Linked DNA regions of Homo sapiens: regions 1 and 2 are each linked to region 3. Evidence: promoter capture Hi-C in 16 types of primary human blood cells and fetal thymus (Javierre and others, 2016). All regions are on one chromosome and are shown on one strand. Each heading gives the region's core, a stretch centred on a gene start or on the middle of the fragment in contact. The rest is flanking DNA. Distances are from core to core; before and after follow the strand shown. Region 1 overlaps ABHD12 (abhydrolase domain containing 12, lysophospholipase). Region 2 overlaps GINS1 (GINS complex subunit 1). Region 3 holds the start of APMAP (adipocyte plasma membrane associated protein).

Region 1 (4,692 bases), core at 1,449-3,948, 330 kb before region 3:
ATACCTATGAGTTTGGTAAATTCCTCTCCTCTTGAGGTCCTAAAATAACTTGGGCCTCCTGGGCCTATTAGAAAGTGACATTCTTTACCACAGGTCAGGAGCCCTGTATGGGGACTGTATAGACAAGTTATGAGGCCAGTTTTACCCACGGGGCTTTTATTGGCGCTATAAGTCCTTTGAATCCTTAAAGGAAAGCAGGCCATTCCAGTCAAAGCCTTGGTAAAATAACCAGTTTCTTCAATTGTTTCCTGTTGCAGAAGAGCCTTCCTTGCTTTCCTTTCTTTCCTTTCTTTCCCTCCCCCCACTCCCTCCCTACCTCTCTCCCTTCCTTCCTTCCTCTCTCTTCTCTTTCTTCCCTTCCCTTCCCTCCCCTCCCCTCCCCTTCACTTCTTTCCTTTCTTTTTTCTTTTCTTTTTTTTTTTTTGGACAGAGTCTCACTCTTTCATCAAGGCTGGAGTGAAGTGGCATGATCTCAGCTCACTGCAACCTCCTCTTCCCGGGTTCAAGCCATTCTCCTGCCTCAGGCTCCCAAGTAGCTGGGATTATAGGTGCACACCACCACGCCTGGCTAATTTTTATATTTTTAGTAGAGACGGGGTTTTGCCATGTTGGCCAGGCTGGTCTCGAACTCCTGACCTCAGGTGATCCACCTGCCTCGGCCTCCCAAAGTGCTAGGTTTACAGGCATGAGTCACCACGCCTGGCTGGCTGCATTTATTTCTTAGGGCCGCTCAAACAAACCTGCAAACTGAGTGGCTTAAAATAAATGTATCCTCTCATGGTTGTGGAGGCTGGGAGTCTGAGGTCGAGGTGTGGGTGGGCCCAGCTCCTCCTGAGATGCTGAGGTGGACCCTTCTTGCCTGTCTGTCTGGCAGCATTCCCGGCTTGGAGAAGCTTCCCTCAAATCTCTGCCTCCATCTTCTCCATCTTCTTGGTCATCTTCTCATGGTCTTCCCTCTGTCTCTGTGTCTAAATGTCCCCATTTTATAAGGATACCAGTCATGTTGGGTTAGTATCCACCCAGTGACCTCATTTGAGCTTGATTACCTCCATAAAGACACTGTTTCCAAGTAAGGTCACACTCTTAGGTACTGGGGGTGAGGCCTTGAACATAGTCTTTTTTGGGGAGCACAACTCAGCCCATAACAGGGCAGGCGGGCCTCCCAGGCCTCTCAGGGGCCAGGCTCATTACCTCCCTGACTTCCTGTCCAGCCAGCCAGGAGGCAGGGCTGTGCAGCCGGGCTGCCGGGTTCAAAGCCAGTTCTTTTTTTTTTTTTTTTTTTTTTTTTTTGAAACAGGGTCTCTCTGTCACTCAGGCTGGAGTACAGTGGTACAACCTTGGCTTACTGCAGCCTTGACCTCCTGGGCTCAAGTGATTCTCCCTCCTCAGCCTCACAAGTGGCTGGGATCACAGGTGCATGTCACCTTACCTGGGTAATTTTTATATTTTTTGTAGAGGTGGGGTTTTGCCGTGTTGCCCAGGCTGGTATCAAAAAATCCAGCTCCGTCATGTGAGCTGGCAATCTAATAGGAGCCATCAGATGGTGATGGTGGTGGCTTGCCTCAGAGACTGTGCAGCCTGGCTCAGCTGGAGCTAATGGGGATGTGGATCATCTCCTTTGCCATTTTTTATTTTGAGAGAAACTTCTTACTAAAATTTTGAAGATGTATCTGCTTCCTGGGAAAGAGATGGAGTAAGAAGGTGGGGTATGAACAGCAGCCCTGGTGGTAGGAACTGTCTCCCCACATGGTCTGGGACAGACGCTCAGGGAGTTTCTGGGAAGGAGTGTGTATGTCCCCATGTCCTCGTGAGTCCAGCCTGGTGACATTTGAGGAAGTGAGGCTAGATGTGCAATGTGCCACATGGACATGGGAGTCACGCAACCCCTGTCTTCACCAGAGACAGCTGTCAGCAGCAGAGCTTCCCCGGGGGCAGGACCCACCAGAGGGAAGCCAGGCCCACACTGCTCTCTGTCATTGCCTCTTTTGGGAGTTGCCATTTTATAAAGCAGGCAAATCCCACCTCAGGGTTCATGCGTTTATTTTAAATTTTTTGTTTTTCAGTTAAACTTATTTTAAAGTTGTGTTCACCAAAAGCAGTAAGACTACAATGGTATATAAGGAAAAAATTGCCCCCATTCTCCCCACACACACACTTTGAAGCTGTGTGAGCAGCCTGGCTTCTGTCTTTCTGTATATCCTCCCAGCCACATGTGGAGGTCGTGTTTCATTTGCATGTTTTTACAATAACAAAGTGGGGCTACCGCACCCGCACCCACAGTCACCTTGCTCCTCTCATCTGCCCGCAGGTCCTGGAGGTTCCTCCAGGTCTAAGGGCCCCATGGTCTTCCACAGTGTGAGGTGCTGGTTAATTCACTCGCTGTCCTGCTGGCAGATGACCTGGTAGATGCAGGACTTCTGCTGGGCCATTGCACTGACTTCATTCTGCTCTGCATGGGTCCTATGGATTCATCCCCCTCGCTGCCCCACACCTCACCTTCTGCTGTCTTTTCTGTGTTAGGCAGCAGTCCTGGAAACTTTGGAATCCCCTTTACCTTGTTTGCCACCCAACGTTCCGTTGGTCATCAGGTCCTGCAGCGCCATCCCCTTTCCTGCTGTCCTTCCCACTCCACCAGGCACCTGAGTTATTCGCAGGCTCAGCCTCCCCAGCCTCCCTCCTGGCTGGCCCATCCTTCAGACCTGTTGGGGATCTTTCCTTCCCTCATTTGCATCTTCTCACACCTAGAATGACCTTAGACCTTAGCGTTCCAGTCTCTACACAGACCTTGCCCTCACTGCAGTCTCTGTCCCTGCCCATGCTGGCTGGCCTCAGCCCATACCCTGCCTGAGGCTGGGCCTGCAGGTCTGGCACCATTGTAAGATTGCACAGGAAAAGGACTTGGTGCTTTCTGAGAGCTTCTGCAGTGTGTGCATGTGGGTGTGCATGTGTGTGTGTGCACGTGTGGATGCATATCTGTGCACGTGTGTGAGTATGCATGTTTGTGTGTACATGTGTGTATTCATCCACCAGTAATCCTAATTTCCATCTCTTTATTTCCTACAGTAAGAGTTCCCTATTTCATTGATTTGAAAAAACCACAGGATCAAGGTTTGAATCACACGTGTAACTACTACCTGCAGCCAGAGGAAGACGTGACCATTGGAGTCTGGTGAGTGCCAGTGAGCTCTGCAGCCCCTCCAGCAGCAGGAAAGGACCCTACATGACTGAGCTGGTGCTGTCTTTGACATTGGCCTCTGAAATGTTGTTCATTTTTATCTTCACCTCTTCCTTTCCTAAAGGAAAGATCTCAGTACATTTGATCCATCCTAATGTTGAGGGATTCAATGGCTTTAAACTCTATTCCCAGCCTTTCAAAACAGCAAAGGCTTTGTGAACAGATTATTATTTTTAGAGAGACTTGTTTCTAGGAAAAACGAAAAGCAAACAAAGAAGCTAGAAACAGGATATAAGTGGCCGGCACAGTGGCTCACACCTGTAATCCCAGCACTTTGGGAGGCTGAGGCAAGTGGATCACTTGAGTCCAGGAGTTTGAGACCAGCCTTGGCGACAAGGTGAAACCCCATCTCTACTAAAAATACAAAAATTAGCCAGGCATGGTGGTGCACACCTGTAATCCCAGCTACTTGGGAGGCTGAGGCAGGAGGATCACTTGACTCCAGGAGGCAGAAGTTGCAGTGAGCTGAGTTCACGCCACTGCACTCCAGCCTGGATGACAGAGCAAGACTCTGTGTCCAAAAAAAAGAGAATATAAGGGAAGAATCACAAACACTGGTTTGAATATATCTTCCATCCAGGCGCGGTGGCTCACGCCTGTAATCCCAGCACTTTGGGAGGCCGAGACGGGTGGATCACTTGAGATCAGGAGTTCGAGACCACCCTAAACAACATGGTGAAACCCCGTCTCTACTGAAAAAAAAATACAAAAATTAGCTGGGCATGGTGGCACGCGCCTGTAGTCCCAGCTACCCGGGAGTTTGAGGCAAGAGAATTGCTTGAACGCAGGAGGCAGAGGCTGCAGTGAGCTGAGATTATGCCACTGCACTCCAGCCTGGGCAACAGAGCGAGACTCTTGTCTCAAAAAAAAAAAAAAATATATATATATATATATATCTTTTCCAAGAGGTGAACATCTAGATACTGAAAACAGCTTGATTTCTTTTCACATATAGCTTCGCACCAGCTGATGATGATGGTGTTGGCTGTCTTCTGAGTATTTACTTTTTTAAGCCATAAGTTTACACTGGACATAAGCCTTGTGACTTCTCTGTGTCTCCTTGGAATACATTTTAATGTTTTCTTCTGTACACAAGTGGTGCTTCTGAACAGCTGAATTAAAATTGACCAACCTCACTGTAGCATTTCCGTTTTTCTCTGAGAAGTGAGCCTGAATCACAGCCCTTTTATCTAGCTGAATTTATTTTTCAGTAGCCATAACGTCGCTTTCCACTGTCTCAGAAAACCACTGTGTATGTGAGAAGCTTCTAAATGAAATGCTGTGAGTAGCTTCCCAGTGTGGATGAGAGAACATTCAGACATTTCTAACAGTGGTCCTTGGTAAAGAACATAAAACAAGAAGGGAGATTTTTGTTCTTAGTAGTTGGTGCTGGGATTAAAGTCTTTTGTCACTTCCTGATTTGATTTAATCTAGCATTTACTGACCAATGTGTGACT
Region 2 (4,180 bases), core at 1,631-4,130, 420 kb before region 3:
CAGGCGTGAGCCACCGCGCCCGGCCAATTTCAACATCTTAATTATTGAATTGTTTTAGAATATCATCTTATGAAACTTACACATCAGACTGGTTTTGTTCATACAAAGCTTTCATCTCCTCCAGAACTTGTCTGAGTCCATCCTCCTAGAACATATAAACCGATATTGAAATCCACTGATTTCCCCACCAATTCTGTGGCAATATGCTATCAATACTGAACTGTATCTTTCATTTATATACTTTAGCAAAAAGCAATAGTCCTTTCACACCCCACTAGCATGGTTATAACAAGTGTTGGTGAGATGCGGAGAAACTGGAACCCTCGTACATTGCTGGTGGGAATGTAAAACGGTATAGCCCTGTGGGCAAAAACTTGACAGTTCCTCAAAAGCTACACACAGAATTACCATATGACTCAGTAATTTTACTCCTAGGTGTATATATATACTCAAGAAAACAGAAAACACATGTTTTTTGCAGCATTATTCATAACAATAAAAATGTAGAAACAACCCAAACGTCCATCAAATGATAGATGGATAAACCTTCCACTTATCTGAAAAATCTAATATAATAAAAAGAATGGGTCAAGGGTGGTGGCTCATGCCTGTAATCCCAGCGCTTTGGAAGGCTGAGGCGGGTGGATCACCTGAGGTCAGAAGTTCAAAACCAGCCTGGTCAACATGGTGAAACCCCGTCTCTCCTAAATATACAAAAATTAGCCAGGCGTGGTGACAGGCTGTAATCCCAGCTATTCAGGAGGCTGAGGCAGGGGAAATCGCTTGAACCCGGGTTGCAATGAGCCAAGATCATGCCATTGCACTCCAGCCTGAGCAACAAGAGCGAAACTTCGTCTCAAAGAAAAAAAAAAAAAAAATGAACTACTGACAACATACACAACAATGAGGATAATCTGAAATACGTTATACTGAGCAAGAGATGCCTGACACAAGAGTTTACATGAAATGATTCCCTCTGGCCCTTCACAGGAAAAGTTTGCCAAAAAGAATAATATCATCTGTAGTCAGAGAAAGCAAATTCATGGTTGCCTAAGGCTATAGGTGGGAGGTAGCTACAAAAGGGGGGCAAAGTTACAGAAATCTTTTTTAATTTTTTTATTTTTGTGGGTACACAGTAGGTATGTATATTTATGGGTTATATGAGATATTTTGATAATTACAGAAATCTTGATCAGGGTGCTGGTTATAAAGATGTACATATTAGTCAAAATTCAAAAATCTATTAAAATACACATGTTGTATGTAAATTATACATCAATAAAATTGACGAACAAAGATATCAATCGTCCTACTGAAGCATGAGGTATAAAGAAAAATATGTAAATAATTCATAATTTACTAAAAAATGGTCTTTTTTTTTAGATGGAGTCTCACACTGTCGCCTGGGCTGGAGTGCAATGGTGCAATCTCGGCTCACTGCAACCTCTGCCTCCTGGGTTCAAGCAATTCTCCTGTCTCAGCCTCCCGAGTAGCTGGGATTACAGGCGCCCACCACCACGCCTGGCTAATTTTTTGTATTTTTAGTAGAGACGGGGTTTCACTATATTGGCCAGGCTGGTCTTGAACTCCTGACCTCGGGTGATCCACCCGCCTCAGCCTCCCAAAGTGCTGGGATTACAGGGATGAGCCACTGGGCCCAGCTTAAAAGTGATCTTAAAAGGTTAATACCAAAAGAAAGAAAAAGGAATAGTGTTTTTGGTTTGCACTGCAAAAACCGGCCATAGGAGTTTTTCTAGTATCCAGTTTCGGGCAAATTTTCCCTTGGAAAAATAAAACATTAGAATTCTGATTTTTTTCGTTGTTGTTGAGATGAAGTCTCACTCTGTGGCCCAGGTTGGAGTGCAGTAGTGCGATCTCAGCTCACTGCAACCTCTGCCTCCCAGGTTTAAGTGATTCTCTTGCCTCAGCCTCTCGAGTAGCTGGGACTACAGGTGTGCACCAGCAATGCCCAGCTAATTTTTTTTTTTTTTGAGACGGAGTTTTGTTCTTGTCACCCAGGCTGGAGTACAATGGTGCAATCTTGGCTCACTGCAACCTCCGTCTCCCGGGTCCAAGCAATGATTCTCCTGCCTTAGCCTCTCAAGTAGCTGGGATTACAGGTGCCCATCACGTCCAGCTAATTTTTGTATTTTTAGTAGAGACAGGGTTTCACCATGTTCACCAGGTTGGTCTCGAACTCCTGACCTCAGGCAATCCACCCACCTCAGCCTCCCAAAGTGCTAGGATTACAGGTGTAAGCCACCAAGTCTGGCTAATTTTTGTAATCTTTTTTTTTTTGGTAGAGACAGGGTTTCGCCATGTTGGCCACACTGCTCTCAAACTCCTGACCTCAAGTGATCCGCCTGCCATGGTCTCCCAAAGTGCTGCGAGTACAGGCAGGAGCCACCGTGTCCAGCCCAAAATGATTAAATGTTACCCAATAGGTCTGCCAACAATCGAAAGAGAAGCAATCCCATCTCTTTTTCACTGTCTATTTTTAGGGCCAAAATATATGTGTTGGCAAAAATGCTGTGGCATATACAAATGGCACAATTCCAAAATCAACTACTCAACTCTGCTCAAAAGATGTAATTCCTGATGGAAAATGCAAGCATGACTTCTACCTGAGCCCAAGGTAATTTTCTTACCTTTTCCTTTTTGAGACAGGGATTCAGTCTGTCACCCAGGCTGGAGTGTAATAGCGTGACCACAGTTCACTGCAGTTTCAACTTCCTGGAGCCATGCAATCCTCTCACTTCAGCCTCCTAAGTTGCTGGGACTACAGGTGTGTGCCACCACACCCAGCTAATTCTATTTTTTGTAAAAATGGGGTCTCACTATGTTGCCCAGGCTAGTCTCGAACTCCTGGGCTCAAGTGTTCCTTCCACCTTGACCTCCCAAAGTGGTGGCTGGGATTACAGGCATGAGCCACCATGCTTGGCCTAACTTTCTTAAAAATGTACTTTTTAAAAAAAGTATCAATTCTGCATATAGAAAGGGTGTAATCACTTTTCTGTTTGCTGAACACAGCGCTTAACCATGAGTGATTCCAGAAGAAAAGCCTGTGTGTTGGGCCGGGCACGGTGGCTCACGCCTATAATCCCAGCACTTTGGGAGGCTGAGGTGGGTGGATCGCCTGAGGTCAGGAGTTCGAGACCAGCCCGGCCAAAATAGTGAAACCCCATCTCTACTAAAAATACATAAAATTATCTGGGCATGGTGGCAGGCGCCTGTAATCCCAGCTACTAGGGAAGCTGAGGCAGGAGAATTGCTTAACCCAGAAGGCGGAGGTTGCAGTGAGCCGAGATCACACCATTGCACTCCAGCCTGGGCCACAGGAGCGAAACTCCCATCTCAAAACAATAAAAAAAAGAGAAAAGCCTGTGTGGTCCTTGGGCCTCTCAGATCCACTGTCAGCCTTCCTCTGTGCCGCTGAGTCGGAGGCCAGCCTCTGCAGGCTGACTAAGTGTTCCAGGCTGCTGGATCACCTTGAGTATCAGGTGGGTTTGTCAGTGGAAGGCACTAGTGAGACAAAAGGTGCTCCACCAAATTAAGACCTACAAGACAGTGATTCTACAACTTTTTTTTTTTTTTGAGGCGGAGTCTCTCTCTGTCGCCCAGGCTGTAGTGCAGTGACCCGATCTTGGCTCACTGCAACCTCCGCCTCCCAGATTCAAGCCATTCTCCTGCCTCAGCCTTCCGAGTAGCTGGGACTACAGGCACATCCCACCACGCCTGGCTAATTTTTTGTATTTTTAGTAGATACGGGGTTTCACCATGTTAGCCAGGATGGTCTCAATCTCAGGACCCTGTAATCCGCCCGCCTCAGCCTCCCAAAGTGGGGGGATTACAGGCGTGAGCCACCACTCCTGGCCTGATTCTACAACTTCTAAGACCAGCCCCTAGCCCCACAAAGTGATAACCCAACACTTAACTTAAAATTTGAGTAAAACAGAGAGCTAAACTAAGTGTCAGAGTCAGGTCCAAAATCCAGCTTGGCCGCACCTGTTTGCACAGTCTCTCTGTTCTCTAGGCCTGTGTCCTGATATGTACAATGACCTCTAAAGTTCCTAGTTCTCAGGCCACATTTTAGCATTTACACACTTCTGCATTCAAGCATCTCTACTGAGCTGCAGACTGCTGCCTAACTTTTTAAATGAGGTAACTGCTCTGAAGTTGA
Region 3 (4,526 bases), core at 1,348-3,847:
GAAGGAGTTGAAACAGCATGGGACTGGGAAAAAGCACTGGACTAGAAGTAGGGTTTGCTTCTGGTTTGAGCTGCGAGGCATACTGTGGGCTCCCTGCCAGCATCATGCGCTTCTTCTTCCATGCTGGCAGAGCCTGCTTTTGTTGAGATAAATGCCCTCCACGTGGGCCAGTGTTCCGATGGAAGTGAGCCTCATCCCCAGTGCCAGGGTTGGGTGTGGGTTTTGGTTGGTCTCACTCAGCGCTTCTCAACCAAGGGCTGTTTTGTCCTCCAGGGGCTATCTGTCAATGTCTGGCAACATTTTTTATCATCACGACTAGGTGGGATGCTACTGCCATCTAGTGGGGGAAGCCCAGGGATGCTGCTGAAACACCAGCGCACAGGAGAGGCCCCCCTCCGCCTCCTAACAGAATTATCTGGCCCAAAATATCAGTGGTGCTGAGAAACCTGATCAAATTAATCATAGTGGTCCCATTCCTCTGCCAACAACTGGCATCAGCACGATGAGAAACAAAGTCGGTCTGGTTGGAAGGTGGGGTGGGAGAACTGATAACTGAAACAAATACAACAAGCAAAGCGTGCTTCACCGTGACTTGAAAACAGAAAAACTGTACTGAACCCGTGCTATGCAGCACAAATGATCTAGCTCAGACCACTGTAACACCAACTACCTACGTGCTTCATGATAAGCCCACGAGCTGACCTCCTGATAACTCCGAATGGACTTACATGTCCCAGAGCTAAGGCCACGGTTCCTCCAGTGACTCCCGTTGTTAACGGATTCTGACCAACCCTGGGCAAGACTATCGATGGACTAACTCCAGCCCCCAAACCCCACAAGGAGTCTCCCATGACTCCCCCATTTTGAGGAACCTCACCGGTCCTCTGGTGCATTTCTTTGCTGCAGCAAGTTCAGTAAACCCAACTTACTGCCATTATTTTTCTTCTGAATGTGTCCCTGGGTGTTTGCAGTGCGTGGGCTTTAACACTGGGCATGGAACACAAATAGCTCCAATGCAGTGAGTTCAATGTTATGGCTGGGACATGTTTAAAGTGCCTTGAAGACAAAGAGGAAGATGTTCTGCTTGGGAAACTGGGAGAAGAATTTTCAGCAAGGATACTTGAAGTGGGTCCTGAATGATAAAAATAATTGGCCAAGTGGAGGTGAAGGAGAGTGTATCACAGGAAGAAGGAACCTCAAGGACAAAGGCAGCCAGGCATGAGATTAGACATGTTAAGCCATCCTGAATGTCTGAAATGGGGGGTGGGGAGCAAGAGGGATAGTCCAGACAGGCAGGAAGGCGTGAGATCATACAGTACTTTGTTAACACTATCCCTGATTTAATAGCTGTATTGGCTATTCTCAATGACACAGAATGAAGTAAAATGTTGTCGAGGCCTGAATTATTACCTGGGATCTCTGGAGAACTGGATTTGCACAGCTCTCCACTTCCCTCAAGCTGGTTCTTCCGCTCTTTGAATGAATAAATAAAAAGCATTCACATGGAATTCTAGTGCCATCTAGCATTTAAAAAGGTAAAAGCCTCCAAGAGGAAATTATTTCTTAACACTGCATTTTGAACATGGCTTTTCCAGAGATAATTCCTCGTGCCACTGGTAACGGGCTTTGATTTCTTCTGCCTGTCACTTCCTCCAGATTCGATTCCTCTTTGAATCTCAAATGCTCTCACAAGATTCAGCTCTTCCCTTTTGAAGCAATTATTACGTTTGATAATTTTACGTCTATTTTATGATGATGATCTGATTAAAGTCATCTTTCCCACTAGTTTAATTTCTATAAGGAGGGGCCTTGTCTGTGATTTGCCCACCATCGTCTCCCAGCACCTGGGAACATTTCTGGTTTCCTGCAATACTGTTGAAAGAACAATGCCTCTCTATGCTTTCTTAAACTTTGTTAGTGATAATTTCTACTTCTACCTGGACTTTACTTAAGGGTAATCCTTAATAAACTTTATCAAAACTTAATAAACTTTATCAAAACTTAATAAACTTTATCAAATGTCTGTTGTAATCGTCACAAAAAGATTTAATACTCAACATCTGGCCTTAACCAGAGGGAAACATTTTCTAGCCCAAGTTTTCCCCTTAACCGGCTGAGTCGGGGAAGGATGTAATTTTCAGGCAGAGGTGACTTCGTTCCAAGGGTGTGAATGCATTATTTTTGACGCTGCCTGTAAGAGCAGGGTCGCTGACACTGAATAAACAGCGCTATCCTCTCCAACGATAAAAGTGGCCAACATCTCGTGCTAGCAATTCCCAAGTGCGTCATGAGCATCCCCGTCCTCAGAAACGTGAGACGAAGGCGGCATGCGCAGGCACTGGGCTAGACGAGCCCGAGGTTGAACCACTCGCGTTCTGGGCCCCGGAGTCCGAGACAGGCGGGGACCCCGGCAGCTCCCGGTGCTATCTCTGAGCGGGTTCCGAGCCCCACTTCCGGGCGGTCAGAATTAGCCTCAGAGCGCCGAGCAACGACGCGCCGGGGACCTCCCGCCCATGAGGCCGGAAGGGGCGGGGAGAACGCTGCGGAATGGTCCCTGGGCGCAACGTCATTTCCGCGTACGGGGGAGGGCGGGCCTGGAGTCTGAGCCGGCGCCGCTCAGTGTGAGGTGGTTTCTGCGGGTGAGGCTGGCGCCCGTACCATGAGCGAGGCGGACGGGCTGCGACAGCGCCGGCCCCTGCGGCCGCAGGTCGTCACAGACGATGATGGCCAGGCCCCGGAGGCTAAGGACGGCAGGTAGGGCGGACTCCCAGACTGGGCGCTGGAGCCGGGCCGCTAGGAGTGGAGGGCGACCCTCTTGGACAGCGGCGACGGCAGTAACAGTAACCTGGGGATGCGGTGCCGAGCGCGTTGTCAGAGTCCTCTCGTTTCATCCCCAAGAAAAACTCATTTTTCCGAGGAAGCAGGCTCCGACAAGGCGGATGTACCTGCCAGGTCTTTCAGGTTCGGGTGCACCCTGCGCCCAGTCGCCGCGTTGTCCTCGGCTCTCCGGACCCGAGACCGCCTCGCGCCGCTCCTTTGCCTTCCCTCCCTCACTCCTGCCCCACCCTGCATAGCGGTTGCTTCCTCGCCTTTCCCTCGCTCCCCTCGCGCTGTCCTTCCTTTGGCTTAAATGATCCCCCTGAGCACAGCTACTTGGCCGGGGCCCTGCGTGTTCCTGGTTCCCCGCTCGCAATTTCCCGAAGGGAGGAGGTCCCACGAGATGCTGGGGTCCTGCCTCGTTATCCGGCGAAGAGATGGCTTCTACACTTGCTCTTCTGCACCTGCCCCCCTCACGCTGCGTGACCAGTCCTCACCGCGGTTCTTGGAAAGAGTGGAGAACAGTAGTGACATTGTAGGCAATTTTTGTGAGAATTCAGCCTGGCAGTTTTTCCTGATAGGGATGGAGAAACATAGGAAACTGTAGTTGTTGACACCTAAGAAATATCAGGTTTTGCCCTTTGCCTCCTCTCCCATCTTTCAGAATATAAGAATGCTGTGTTTTGTTAGCTAAAAACTGAATCATGATTCGTAAGCATAGATTTCAATATAAGATACTTAAAATTCACTTTTCAATTCTGTGTCCTGAATTTCATAACTTTTAAGTTTCAGGGAGAATCAAGAGGCCCCATAGACCAAGCTTGAAGTTGTGGGACTGATTGACTTATATTTGATAGAAATACTGGAAATATTTGTTCATCAGTAGTGTGCCAAGAGGTGGTGGGGTACATATGAATGAGAGGCAGTTTTTGCCCCTGTAGACTGAGTTTATTGACTGATGATAAGAGGAACACATTTGAAGGAGAGCGATGGCAGGAAGGAGCATTTAGGCTCTAGAGAGGCAATTTAGAGAGAAGACTTTGCGGTGATAGTTGACTCCTTGGGCCAGTGAAAAGATCGGGAAGATGCTCCCATATATCCTGACCAACCATCCTGCGTTGCCCTGGACTGGGGTTTCCAAGGATGTAGAACTTTCAGTGCTAAACCTGGGCAAACTGGGACAATCTGATCACCCTACTTACTGTGAATATTGTGAATTAATCATCTGTTGATGATTGAGGAGCCATTTAGAATGGACATGCAAGAATTGGCAACACTTTCCTACAGAAATCTTGAAAACAAGGCATTTTTACCTGAGAAATGGAAGAGCAGTGGCCTGAGTTTGTCATTAGGTGCAGTGTGTTGAAAACCAGGGCCTACAGCCCCTGAGGGCACCGGTTAGGTAGTCCCAACTCTCAAGTTGGCTGGCTCACACTTCTGGCCCCAGGGCAAGCAGGCAGACTTAATTGTTTTTTTCAGGTTCTCTGTGGGGATTTCTTCCTTAATGAGTAAGTAAATCTGATTCTAAAGTCATCTTTTACTGCCTGATCTTTTCCAGTGTGCCTTTTACATTTATGTTTACTTATTTCCTTGACTTCCCTGTCCATGAACATTGTTCCTGTTTCCCTGTGTTTGTCCTTCTTGTTTGTTTATCCCTTTTCTGTATATCTGTAATGATCTCTTTCAAAGTGAGGTCTTGTCACCACCCT

The links. Contacts are between HindIII fragments. The CHiCAGO score rates a contact against its expected background, and 5 or more counts as called.
Region 1: a fragment that was not itself captured here is called in contact with the fragment with the promoter of APMAP in region 3 in 1 of 17 cell types (monocytes); the score reaches 5.2 in monocytes.
Region 2: a contact is called between a fragment that was not itself captured here and the fragment with the promoter of APMAP in region 3, in 3 of 17 cell types (total B cells, monocytes and fetal thymus). The highest score is 7.0, in total B cells.

The regions. Positions count from the first base shown.
Region 1 is chr20:25,321,802-25,326,493 of GRCh38, reverse strand. ABHD12 (abhydrolase domain containing 12, lysophospholipase) reads left to right here. Exons shown (of 13, transcript NM_001042472.3): 3 at 3,064-3,169. Among named protein-coding and RNA genes, the nearest start is that of ABHD12, 67 kb to the left of the region's middle. The HindIII fragment of the contact is 3,606 bases long and covers 896-4,501 here.
Region 2 is chr20:25,409,755-25,413,934 of GRCh38, reverse strand. It overlaps GINS1 (GINS complex subunit 1), which reads right to left. Exons shown (of 7, transcript NM_021067.5): 2 at 81-145. Among named protein-coding and RNA genes, the nearest start is that of GINS1, 4.2 kb to the right of the region's middle. The HindIII fragment of the contact is 5,539 bases long and covers 111-4,180 here.
Region 3 is chr20:24,990,822-24,995,347 of GRCh38, reverse strand. APMAP (adipocyte plasma membrane associated protein) reads left to right here and starts at 2,597. Exons shown (of 9, transcript NM_020531.3): 1 at 2,597-2,754. The coding sequence starts at 2,660. RefSeq lists enhancers at 2,043-2,543, 2,456-2,695, 2,826-2,905, 2,926-2,985, 2,544-3,044 and 1 more. The HindIII fragment of the contact is 12,703 bases long and covers 1-3,639 here.